Regions from separate parts of the Homo sapiens genome. Here region 2 is linked to region 1. Evidence: promoter capture Hi-C in human tissues and cell types (Jung and others, 2019). All regions are on one chromosome and are shown on one strand. Each heading gives the region's core, a stretch centred on a gene start or on the middle of the fragment in contact. The rest is flanking DNA. Distances are from core to core; before and after follow the strand shown.

Region 1 (5,788 bases), core at 1,773-4,272:
CTTGAATTTCTCCTCAGAAAATGAGATTTTCTTTTCTATCGCATTGTCAGGCTGCAAATTTTCCAAACTTTTGTGCTCTGCTTCCCTTATAAAACTGAAGGCCTGGCCAGGTGTGGTGGCTCACGCCTGTAATCCCAGCACTTTGGGGAGCTGAGACGGGCGAATCACGAGGTCAGGAGTTCGAGACCAGCCTGGCCAACATGGTGAAACCCTGTCTCTACTAAAAATACAAAAAGTTAGCTGGGCATAGTCATGGGTGCCTTTAATCCCAGCTACTTGGGAGACTGAGGCAGGAGAATCGTTTGAATCCAGGAGGCGGAGGTTGCAGTGAGTCGAGATCACACCACTGCACTCCAGCCCTGGTAACAGAGTAAGACTCTGTCTCAAAAAAAAAAAAAAAAACAAAAAAAACTGAATGCCTTTAACAACACCCAAGTTGCTTCTTGAATGCTTTGCTGCTTAGAAATTTCTTCTGCCAGATACCCTAAATCATCTCTCTTAGGTTCCAAGTTCCACAAATCTCTAGGGCAGGGACAAAACGCTGCCAGTCTCTTTACTAAAACATAACAAGAGTCACCCTTGCTCTAGTTCCCAAAAAGTTCCTCATCTCCATCTGAAACCACCCCCGCCTAGATTTCGTTGTCCATATCATTATCAGCATTTTGGTCAAAGTCATTCAACAGGCCTCTAGGGAGTTCCAAACTTGCTCACATTCTCCTGTCTTCTTCTGAGCCCTCCAAACTGTTCCAATCCCTACCTGTTACCCAGTTCCAAAGTCGCTTCCACATTTTTGGTTATCTTTTCAGCCGTGCCCCACTCTACTGGTACCAGTTTACTGTATTAGTCGATTTTCATGCTGCTGATAAAGACATACCTGAAACTGGACAATTTACAAAAGAAAGAGGTTTATTGGACTTACAATTCTACATCACTTGGGAGGCCTCACAATCATGATGGAAGGAGAAAGGCACATCTCACATGGCAGCAGACAAGAAAAGAGCTTGTGCAGGGAAACTCCTCTTTTTAAAACCATCAGATCTCATGAAATTTATTCATTATCATGACAATAGCACAGGAAAGAACTGCACCCATAATTCAGTCACCTCCTACCAGGTTCCTCCCACAACACGTGAGAATTCAAGATGAGATTTGGATGGGGACACAGCCAAACCATGTCACACTACCATGCCTGACTTCCTTTCCATTTTTGTATATTTGCTTGTTCTTCATTTGCCCGAGAAGTAACTCTAAAGGGCTGTATTATTTGGATATTAGATTGGCATTTTATCTGACTGGGATATCTTGCTGTGATTGTCCATGTATAAGATCAGCTTTTCTATAAGCCATATTTTTAAAAAGATATATTAATTTTTTAAAAATCCACCTGTCTAAATAAATGCACAAAGCCCCCCAAAAACCTAGATTCTAAGAAAAATCTATGTACTGCCATACAATGATTGATATTAATATTTATGGTGATAAATTACACACAAAAAATGTGTGATCTCTGTTTAAACAGGCAAAAACAAAAAACACATGAAATAAATCTATGGCATCTATAGCCAAAACTGGAAACAACCCACATATCCATCAATAGGAAATCAGTTAAATAAATTATAGTACATTTATCCAATGGAAGATTAAGCACATATTCAATATAATTATTTATACACACATATAGATACACACATGTATAAATATAGAGAATACTGTGGGTGTATGTGTGTGTGTGTTTATATACATATATATACACACACAGTACTGTTGCCTACCTTCTTTTGTCTTAATTCTGTGAACTCTCATTCACTCTGCTTCAGTAGGATACATCCTTCTTTTTGGTTCTTAGACTCACCAAGTTGATCCTTGACTCAAGACATTGCATTTGCTGCTTCCTCTTCCTGGAATATCCTTCCTTCTGATATTCACATGAGTAGTCTCTTCTTGTCATTCAGATCTCAAATGTCACAATTTCAGAGAGCCCATCTCTGATCATCATATCTAAAGTTGTCCTCATTCCCCCATAGCTTTCTATACCATGTTTTATTTTTTTCATAACATGTATTTTATTACTCCTTTCTCCATTGGAATAGAATCTCCATTAGATTAGGAAATCTGCCTATCTTATTAATGCCTGCAACTGGAATACTTTTGAAGAGTTCTTGGCACGTAATAAATACTCAACTAATATTTTTGTGTACACAGAAATAAAGTTTGGAAGAACAGATGCCAAATTGTTACTAGTGGTTACTTCTGAGTAAAGGAGTAGCATGGTAGGTAAATTATTAATAGATGTTCACTTTCCACCAAGATATGTTTTAGTTAGTCTTAACTTACTTGAAATGAAATTTATTACTTTAATAATTAGAAACATTGATAAACATTTTAGTCACAAGAATGATAGATAAAATTTTGATGCTTCCAATAAGTTATATTTATCTAGAGGATGCACTTATGTAGAATACTCTCTTGAGGATGTTAGGTGAGTAACATGTTACTATATGTAGTAAAATATCTATGATTTTATAAAAGCACTGAAACATGAAGCAGCAGAAATGTTTTTCCCAGTTCTCTTTCCTCTGAACTTGATCACCGTCTCTCTGGCAAAGCACCTAAATTAATTCTTCTTTAAAAGTTAACAAGACCAAATTATAAGCTTGATGAATAACTCATTCTTATCTTTCTTTAAATGATTATAGTTTATGTATTTATTAGCTATGCCCATCTTAAACAGGTTTATTTGTTCTTTTTACACATACCAAACTCTTAATATTAGCTGTTGTCCCCAGGTCCGAATGTTAAGTCAACATATATTTGAGAGACCTTCAACTTATCAAGTATTGCAGGTCTCTGATTGCTTTGGAACCACTTCTGATACCTGTGGACTTAGTTCAAGGCCAGTTACTACCACTTTTTTTTTTCTAATAGAATGAACAAATGGCTAATTGTTTGCTTTGTCAACCAAGCTCAAGTTAATGGATCTGGATACTATGTATATAAAAAGCCTAGCTTGAGTCTCTTTTCAGTGGCATCCTTCCCTTTCTAATCAGAGATTTTCTTCCTCAGAGATTTTGGCCTAGATTTGCAAAATGATGACCACATCTTTGATTTGGGGGATTGCTATAGCAGCATGCTGTTGTCTATGGCTTATTCTTGGAATTAGGAGAAGGTAAGTAATGTTTTATCTTTAAATTGCTCTTTGATTCATCCATTTAATTTTTTTACCTTCATTTTTATACAGTAAATTTGGTTTTCTATACTTACACATATTAGCATTATCTTCCTTATTTTTTAAATGAAAAATTTGATTTGAATTTTTAAAGTAATATCTTTTTTACTATATCTCACAAGACATATGACAGCTTCCCTTTTTAGTATTGGCATATACCGATGGTAATATATAAATGTATATTGGTGTTAAACATAACTGACAGAAATTGTATAAGGTCTCTATGTACATTTATATGTGTATCTAAAGAGGAAGCCCAGATTAGTAAGGATACAAGTAGCAAGTGGGAATCTACAATGGAAAGGATTGCTTTCTCTCACATGGCTTCAATAGATACTCTTGTTAAATAAATGTTCTCTTTTAAGCTCATTCTTGTGCATCGCATAGACTCAGCCTAAGCCTGAACAAGAGCATAGAGCCTGAGCTGATCATTCTATTACTGTTTTTAAATAAATGTTAATCAACTGTGGTGAATTGGGAAAGTTTGCTGAGTGTATGTGACATCGATTTCATTTATTTACAACTGGTTCAAGAATGCAAGAAAAACAAATACAGTCAGATCCAGAACCATAGTTTATTTAACTTCTAATTGGCTCAAGGAGTAATTGTGGGGAGGCATATAGATATTCTCTGCTATGTCAATCTCAAAAAGAGAAAATAACCCTAACCATCTTTCAGCTTTGTAGATTGCTATGTGTTTTCTGCCTTTTGCAGTTTCTTTCAGGCCTGATAGTTTTTACTTTTAATTAAACTACTTATCTTCAAACTAAGAAAAGAAAGGTAATTACTTTATACTGTATTATTCTATCAAGAGGTACAGAAGTTTATGTTGGAAAATAAGTTTACATGTTCTAATAAAAACATTTTAAAGGAGCACTGAATTACAATAGATGATTCCGTCAGTGTTTATCTTACTCAATTTCATTTTATAATAAGCTGATTTCTCACATGAGATTCTTCTTCTCTGAAACCATCCTTATAGAATATAATATAGATATCTTTAAACTAGGAATATTTTCAAAACCTCAGTTCTGAAATCCTCCCTTATTCAGTGATCTGTGTCTTTAAAGAAAATAATCAAAAGAAACATTTTGAGATATTTAGAAAAATGATGCTTAGCAAAGTGATAAACACTAGAATGTAGTTTTGTTTCCGCACTGACAACAAGAATCTTGTTGGTCTTGTAAATCCTTTTGCCTGTATCACTGGGAAAAGTGATGAGCACATAGTAGACGGGTGCTTGTTGAATGTGTATATGGACGGATGCATGAATGGATGGATTTAGTAATCCTTTCCACCAACATATCATGTTACTAGGTTAATATAACCTATTACTGTAGTAAAAGAGCAGGGCCCATCCAACAAAAGAAATATCTATAAACTATAGGGTTTCAAAGTTTGAAGTCAGTGGGAAAAATTTTAAAACCTGATGTAAGTAAAAACCCAAAACTGTAATCATCCATGTCTATCATACACTTGTGTCTGACAGGCAAACGGGTGAACCACCTCTAGAGAATGGATTAATTCCATACCTGGGCTGTGCTCTGCAATTTGGTGCCAATCCTCTTGAGTTCCTCAGAGCAAATCAAAGGAAACATGGTCATGTTTTTACCTGCAAACTAATGGGAAAATATGTCCATTTCATCACAAATCCCTTGTCATACCATAAGGTGTTGTGCCACGGAAAATATTTTGATTGGAAAAAATTTCACTTTGCTACTTCTGCGAAGGTAAGCAGTTTTACATTTATATACCATTCTGTTTGTCTTCTACCTTTTTATGTGCTTGTCTATTTAGAAATTTTGATGTACTTAGATTTTATGATAAAGGTGTTGAAGAGAGTTATCCTTATGTGGAGATTCTTAGAAACATAAATAAATTATACGTAGCTTCTTAGTAATAATCATTTAGAAAGTCAAAATAGGTATAGATTTGTCATTTGTTGACGAGCTAATGAGGGTGAAATACAGATTAAATGCTCTACTGAGACAGGTGGCACTGTACGAATAAGATAGATAAAAATTCATCACATCAGCAATGTCTATGCAAGAATGCAAGTGACGGAAACCTAACATTCAGCAGTTGTCTCACCACACTTGTGCCACACAGTGTTTCATTTTGATAAGGAATTGGCAAGATATTTTAACATCATTTAGATGTAATAAAAGAAGATCTGTTACTGAGAAAAAAAACCAATAACTACTTACTTACTGCAAATAAATATTAGCTTTGGTCTTTGTGACTAAGTAGCTTAAAGTTTGGTTAAAATACATCTACAGCTGGACACAATGGAACACACCTGTAGTCCCTGCTATTTGAGAGGCTGAGGCAGGAGGATCGCTTGAGTCCAGGAGTTTGAGGCTGCAGTGAGCTATCATTGTGTCACTGCACTCCAGCCTGGGTGACAATGTGAGACCCCATCTCTAAAAGAAAAAGAAAAAGAAATCTACAAATAATATAAAAGATAACTAATGATTTTAAAACATTATCAATTAGTTTATGTGCAATAGCTGTAAATAAGTGCAGTAGCATAAGAAATAAGACATAGATGACTTGAGTGAT
Region 2 (5,788 bases), core at 2,287-4,786, 53 kb after region 1:
GGCATAAAAGAGTTTTCTAGGTACTTGAGGTGCTGCTGTAACAAATACCTAAAAGTAGAAAAGTGGCTCTGGAATTGGGCAGTAGGTGGAGGCTGGAAGAATTCTGAGGAGCATGCCAGAAAAGAAGCTAAACTGCCTTAAACAGACTGTTAGTAGAAATATGGAATGTTAATGCTAGGGCGGCCTTGAAGAAAGGAGCATAATAGAGAATACCTCGATTGCCATAGAATATCTAAATCATCATGAATAGACTGTTGGTAAAAAATGAGGAATATGTTACTGGAGAAGTGGAGGAAAGGAGTCCTTGTTACATAGTGGCGAAAAGCTAAGCTGAGTTGTGTCCTGCCGTTATGTGTAAAGCAGAACTTTTAAGTGATGACTTCAATATTTAGCTGAGGATATTTCCAAGCAAGCTGTGGAAGGTACAGCCTGCTGTCTTCTTGCTGATTATAGTAAAATGTGGAAAGAGGTAGATTGAGGGAAGACCTGTTAAATATAAAGAAACCAGGACTTGATGATTTGGGAAATTCGCGGCCTATTCAAATGGCAAAAGCCACTAAAACTAAGATTCACCGTCAGGACAGCCTTTACTCTAGAGAAAGTGATGAAGATATGGCTGTATAACCTTTTGCTAATACTTCAGAAACATCAAAAGGTCTGAATATCAGGTCACACACAAGACTCTTTGAAGATATTAAGGGTGTGAATCATAGATCCTCTCAGCTATTTCAGAAAAAGCCAAAAACAGAGACAGGATTTTCCAGGAAAGATACGTGAGGAGCCTCCTATCTAAATGAGTGCATCCCTGTGACATATGTAAAAGACCCACAAGTTTCTTGACAACGTTATAGCAGCAGAAGCACCACCATTTTTAACAGAAAGCTTTAGAGAATATAAAAGAAGAACAAACTGATAAGTTGATACTCAGCTGCAAACGTGTGCTACCTTTTGTGAAAAAGTAAAGATGACTCTGAGACAGTCAACAAGCCCAGAGAACAGCAGTGAGCTGAAGATTACTCCCAGGCCTTGAAACTTAAAGAAGGGTGCCTCGCTGGTTTTGTAAATTGATTGGTGCTGATGGCTCCTTTTTCCATCTGTTTCTGCTTTTTGAACAGGAACGTGTGTAACTATTATTGTCTGCCTGTCATGCCATCATACTTGGGAACAGATAACTTGTTTTCTAGGTTCACAAGTGCACAGTTGGAATTATGTCCCAGAAATCACACACAGATCCTCTCCCAAACTTAATTTAGATGGCTTCAATGTGAGATTTGAGACTTTTGAGTTGGTGAGACTCAGATAAGATTTTGGATTTAGAGTTGATGCTGTAATAATGGATTGTGACTTTTGAGCACCTATGAGTGATGTAAATTTATTTGTGATGAATCTGAATCTTTAACACAGGAGTGGAGCGGGGGGTGGGTGGGAACTGTAGTAGGCAAGAATAATGTTCCATGTAAAATGTTAATGTCCTAATCTCCAAACCTGTATGTAACCTTAGATGGTAAAAGAGATTTTGCAGATGTAATTAAGGTTACTATGGATTTCAAGACAAGGAGATAAGCCTAGATTGGATATCCGGTGGGCCTCATTTAATCATGAGTCCTGCAGAGAACCTCTCCACACTGGTGTCAGAGAGATGTGGTAACAGAAGGGTCATAGAGATGAAACAGCACTGGTTTTTAAGATGGAAGAAGGAGGTCACAAGCCAAGGAATGAGGATGTCCTGTAGAAGGTGGAATGACAAGGAAATGATTCTCCTGTAGAGCCTCCTAACAGAATGCAACCCTGCCAACAAATTGATCTTGGCACCGCGAAACTCTTAACCTGGACTCCTAACCTACAGAATTGTGAAGATAATAAATTTGTGCTATTTTAAGCCACATTTTGTAACTTGTTATGGTGGCAATGGAAAACTAACCAGAAGTAATAATTAAGGATGAAATGGTGTCTAGGAAGAAGGAAAAGCTTCTGGCTTCAGCAGAAATGCAAACATTTATGCTGGTAATTCTTTAGATCTAGTCCGTCTGACAGAATTTACATTCCTGTATTTCTACACTAGTCTTGTTCTGGAGAAGACATTCTAGGTTGAGCACACAGAATAGTGTTTAGTGTATACAGTGAGTTTCCTAGAAAAATGTGTTGAATGAATAAATGAATGTGATCAACGCAAGCTCTGGGAGGAACTGTAATTACTTGATTTTAAAATATTGTTGCTGTTTACCATATCTTCTTAAGAACTGCTGACCTTTAGGCTGGGCGTGGTGGCTCATGCCTGTAATCCCAGCACTTTGGGAGGCTGAGGTGGGTGGATCACCTGAGGTTCGGAGTTCGAGACCAGCCTGATCAACACAGAGAAACGCTGTCTCTAGCAAAAGTACAAAAATTAGCCAGGCATGGTGGCGCATGCCTGTAATCCCAGCTACTTGGGAGGCTAAGGCAGGAGAATCTTTTGAACCTGGGAGGCGGAGGTTGCGGTGAGCAGAAATTATGCCATTGCACTCCAGCCTGGGCAACAAGAGCAAAACTCCATATCAAAAAAAAAAAAAAAAAGAATTGCTGACCTTTATGTGTTTCTGTTTAAGTTCACAACAGTCATAATTCTGTAAAATACAAGGCAAAACTGTAGTTTCTGATACTAGTAATATATCTAAATCAGTAAGTAAAAAGGATGTGTAAAATCTTAATAGGAGAAATAATTATTGTATGATCAAACAATTTCAAAATCAAAAGACACGTTTCAGTATATATTATAGACAAATTTTCAACTTATTTGATCAAAAGATTTCTTAATGGCTGTTGGTCAATGCTGCATCAAGAAACTTTAGTGCAAATTTTACCAAATGCATTTATCAAAAAGGGGTTTTGTTCATTTTTCTCTGCAAACAAATGTTGTTACATTAACACTAAGCATGTAACAACTCATTTGCCTAGAAATCCAAAAACTATCAACATAAGCCAGTCCTTCAACTAAAAACTCAAACATACTTATCTCAAGGTCTATTCCTAATCCAAATTTGTCTATATTCAGATTGGAAGACAGAATAACAATAAAACCAAAATTTATCTGTAAAAATAATAAAAATAATTTGGCTGTTTTTAATGCTGAAGTATTGTCCTTATTAATACGGCACATCATCTATTCCCACATGCTACTGCATGGACAGGAACAATATTATTTTAGTTGCTGGAGTAACACAGTGTTAAGAATATCTGCTTCTAGCAGTGTCAGGCTTTCATCTGTTAGCTCTTTATTCGGAAATGAAGTCACAAGAATAAAGTCAAGAGCCGCAAATTCAGGACGAGACTGTACAATAAAGTTCCGGACATCCAGGATCCTGAAGAAATAAGACAAAAATAATTTGTAATATAAAAAATCATATTTTCATGTAAACTTAAAACTGAATCATAATAAAAATCACAAAATTTTAATCTTTATATAAAGGTGTTGTAACTTTCTTTAATATATAGTATTTCAATTGAAGGATTTATCTTAGGCTTCAGTTAAAATGTAAAGTAACTTTAGTGTGTACTTAACATTTACTTTTCCTGTAAAATGGAAACAATCTTCAGGTAAGTTATGAATAAAGTAAGTGTACTAATGTTGTTATTTTAAAAGTGCAGGTCCAGCTGGGCACGGTGGCTTACGCCTGTAATTCCAGCACTTTGGGAGGCAGAGGTGGGCAGATCACTTGAGGCCAGGAGTTCAAGATTAGCCTGGCTAACACGGTGAAAACCCCGTCTCTACTAAAACCAGAAAAAATTAGCTGGGCATGGTGGTGGCTGTCTGTAATCCCAGCTACTCAAGAGGCTGAGCATGAGAATTGCTTGAATCTGGAAGGCGGAGTTTGTAGTGGGCTGAGATTCCGCCACTGCACTCCAGCCTGGGAGACAGAGTAAGACTCTGTCTCAAAAAAAAAAAAAAAAAAAAAAAAAAAAAAAAAAAATGCAGGTTGTACTTTTTTCGGAGTATAAAATGTGTTAGCAGCATATGACCCAGAAAAAGGTAACTATGATTGGCCTGTGGCAAGGTGAGTCTAAAACTATGAAATGTGCTATCATAGGAATAATTTTAAAAAATTACTCTCACATAAACATAGTAATTCAACCAAAATCATAAATATATCTATTAGGGTCTTACTTCAATGGACAAATCAAATGTTGATGTACAAGTCAATATTAAAGAAACATTTAAAACTATCTGAAGTTCTTGACAAAAGTACAATTAAACTTGATTTACAATACACATTTATATTATGAAGTATTTGCTATACAGAAAATTAATCCCAATCAAAATTATCACAAATTTTTAAATGAATAAAGTCCCCAAAAGGTTTTACTATGTTAAATTAAATCTGATTCGACTTCATATAGTTTTAGTAACAACGTAAAACTATAGTTCTTAATTTATTTTTGTGTGATATCTGAGATCACATTAGTATTTGGATAGTTTATAGAGACTGTTTAAATACCACATATTTCATTTCTTAAACACAGCTATTGTCCTTTTAAAAATGTTTCTTCTGTCAAAAACTTACTTCAAAAGTAAACCTAAAGAATATCATATTCTTCATTACTCAAGTCACATACAGTTCTACTTAGATAAGCAATCCAGTGTATATAACAGCAAACAGGACACTGTTGGTAAAGAAGCTTACCTGTGTGTACTATTGAATCTTTGTATCAAACGACTCCCATCTGCTAACCTGATTTGAATTTTTGTTGTTGGCACTGAATCATCAATAAGAACAACTGCATTAAGTATTGATTTATCCTCCTCTTCTGGAGAGGAAGGTGTACTGACTATTTCAGGTGTAAGGCTAAAAAAGAGGAATTAAACACAAATCTGAATGTGTAAAATATATGACAAACTGAAGACAGCGATAAACACTTAGAACATGGCTTCATTTGAGTCTCCTATACTTCTTTCAACCTCTTTCATTATATTAAAGTTATTTTGGATCCTACGATTCTTATTTGGTTTATCTAATCTCTCATAAAAGCCTAACTTTGCATCCTTTCCTCATTTAACTGTTTGCAACTTCATCACTGTTTAGCAAACCAGTTTTATTTAGAAATACGAGCAACTCTGAGTTAGGGTCAAAGAATCATTAAGAGCACAGACAGACATGGTTTCACATCCCAGCCATGTCAACTGTGTAAAGTTGAGTAAGTACATCAATCATTTTGAATCCCAGTTCTATCATTTATAAAGTGAGGGAATAATACTATGTTATGAAGGTATATTATACCAGTAAGTCCTTAATATTGTGCCTAGAACACAGTGTTTCAACGGGTGCCAGCTATTGTGAACATATTATCAGCACTAAATTCATTTAATTTGGACTTGGTTAATATCATTTAAACACATCTGATTCAAGCACTGCTTTGCAAAAGAGAAATAACTTCTAAGTACCATTGAGGAATAAAATGTTATTACATGACAATAAATTCATAATGAAGCTTGATAGAATATCTTACCATTAGAACTTGGTTACTAGTGACCCTGGCATTGCTGTCTTAGCCCCTTCTAACACTAGCAGGATGATCAGCCAGTATATGCCAAAAGTGAATGTCAAAAATAGAGGAGTGCTCTTTTGGTTAAATAATTCAAATAAATTTAGCTCAATTTTCTCAGTCATCTTAAGGAATTTTTGATAGTCTTGAAGTTTTTTCTCTTGAACTCTGAGATTTAGATGGTTTCCTATAGATTATTTTCTTCTGGAAGAAAGACACGCATGTATCTACATATTACTAGTATAAAAGTTCTATGAGCATTTGGGCTTTA

The links. The method cuts DNA at HindIII sites, captures the fragments that hold promoters and counts their contacts. A contact is called where the count stands out against the background at its distance.
Region 2: a contact is called between a fragment that was not itself captured here and the fragment with the promoter of CYP7A1 in region 1, in 1 of the 25 tissues and cell types used here (dorsolateral prefrontal cortex).

The regions. Positions count from the first base shown.
Region 1 is chr8:58,497,397-58,503,184 of GRCh38, reverse strand. It overlaps CYP7A1 (cytochrome P450 family 7 subfamily A member 1), which reads left to right and starts at 3,022. Exons shown (of 6, transcript NM_000780.4): 1 at 3,022-3,166; 2 at 4,716-4,956. The coding sequence starts at 3,087. RefSeq lists an enhancer at 2,591-2,812, a promoter at 1,144-3,046 and a silencer at 3,144-4,730. The HindIII fragment of the contact is 11,138 bases long and covers 1-5,788 here.
Region 2 is chr8:58,444,939-58,450,726 of GRCh38, reverse strand. It overlaps UBXN2B (UBX domain protein 2B), which reads right to left. Exons shown (of 8, transcript NM_001077619.2): 7 at 4,659-4,820; 8 at 1-3,338. The coding sequence ends at 3,176. Among named protein-coding and RNA genes, the nearest start is that of UBXN2B, 36 kb to the right of the region's middle. The HindIII fragment of the contact is 4,222 bases long and covers 1,426-5,647 here.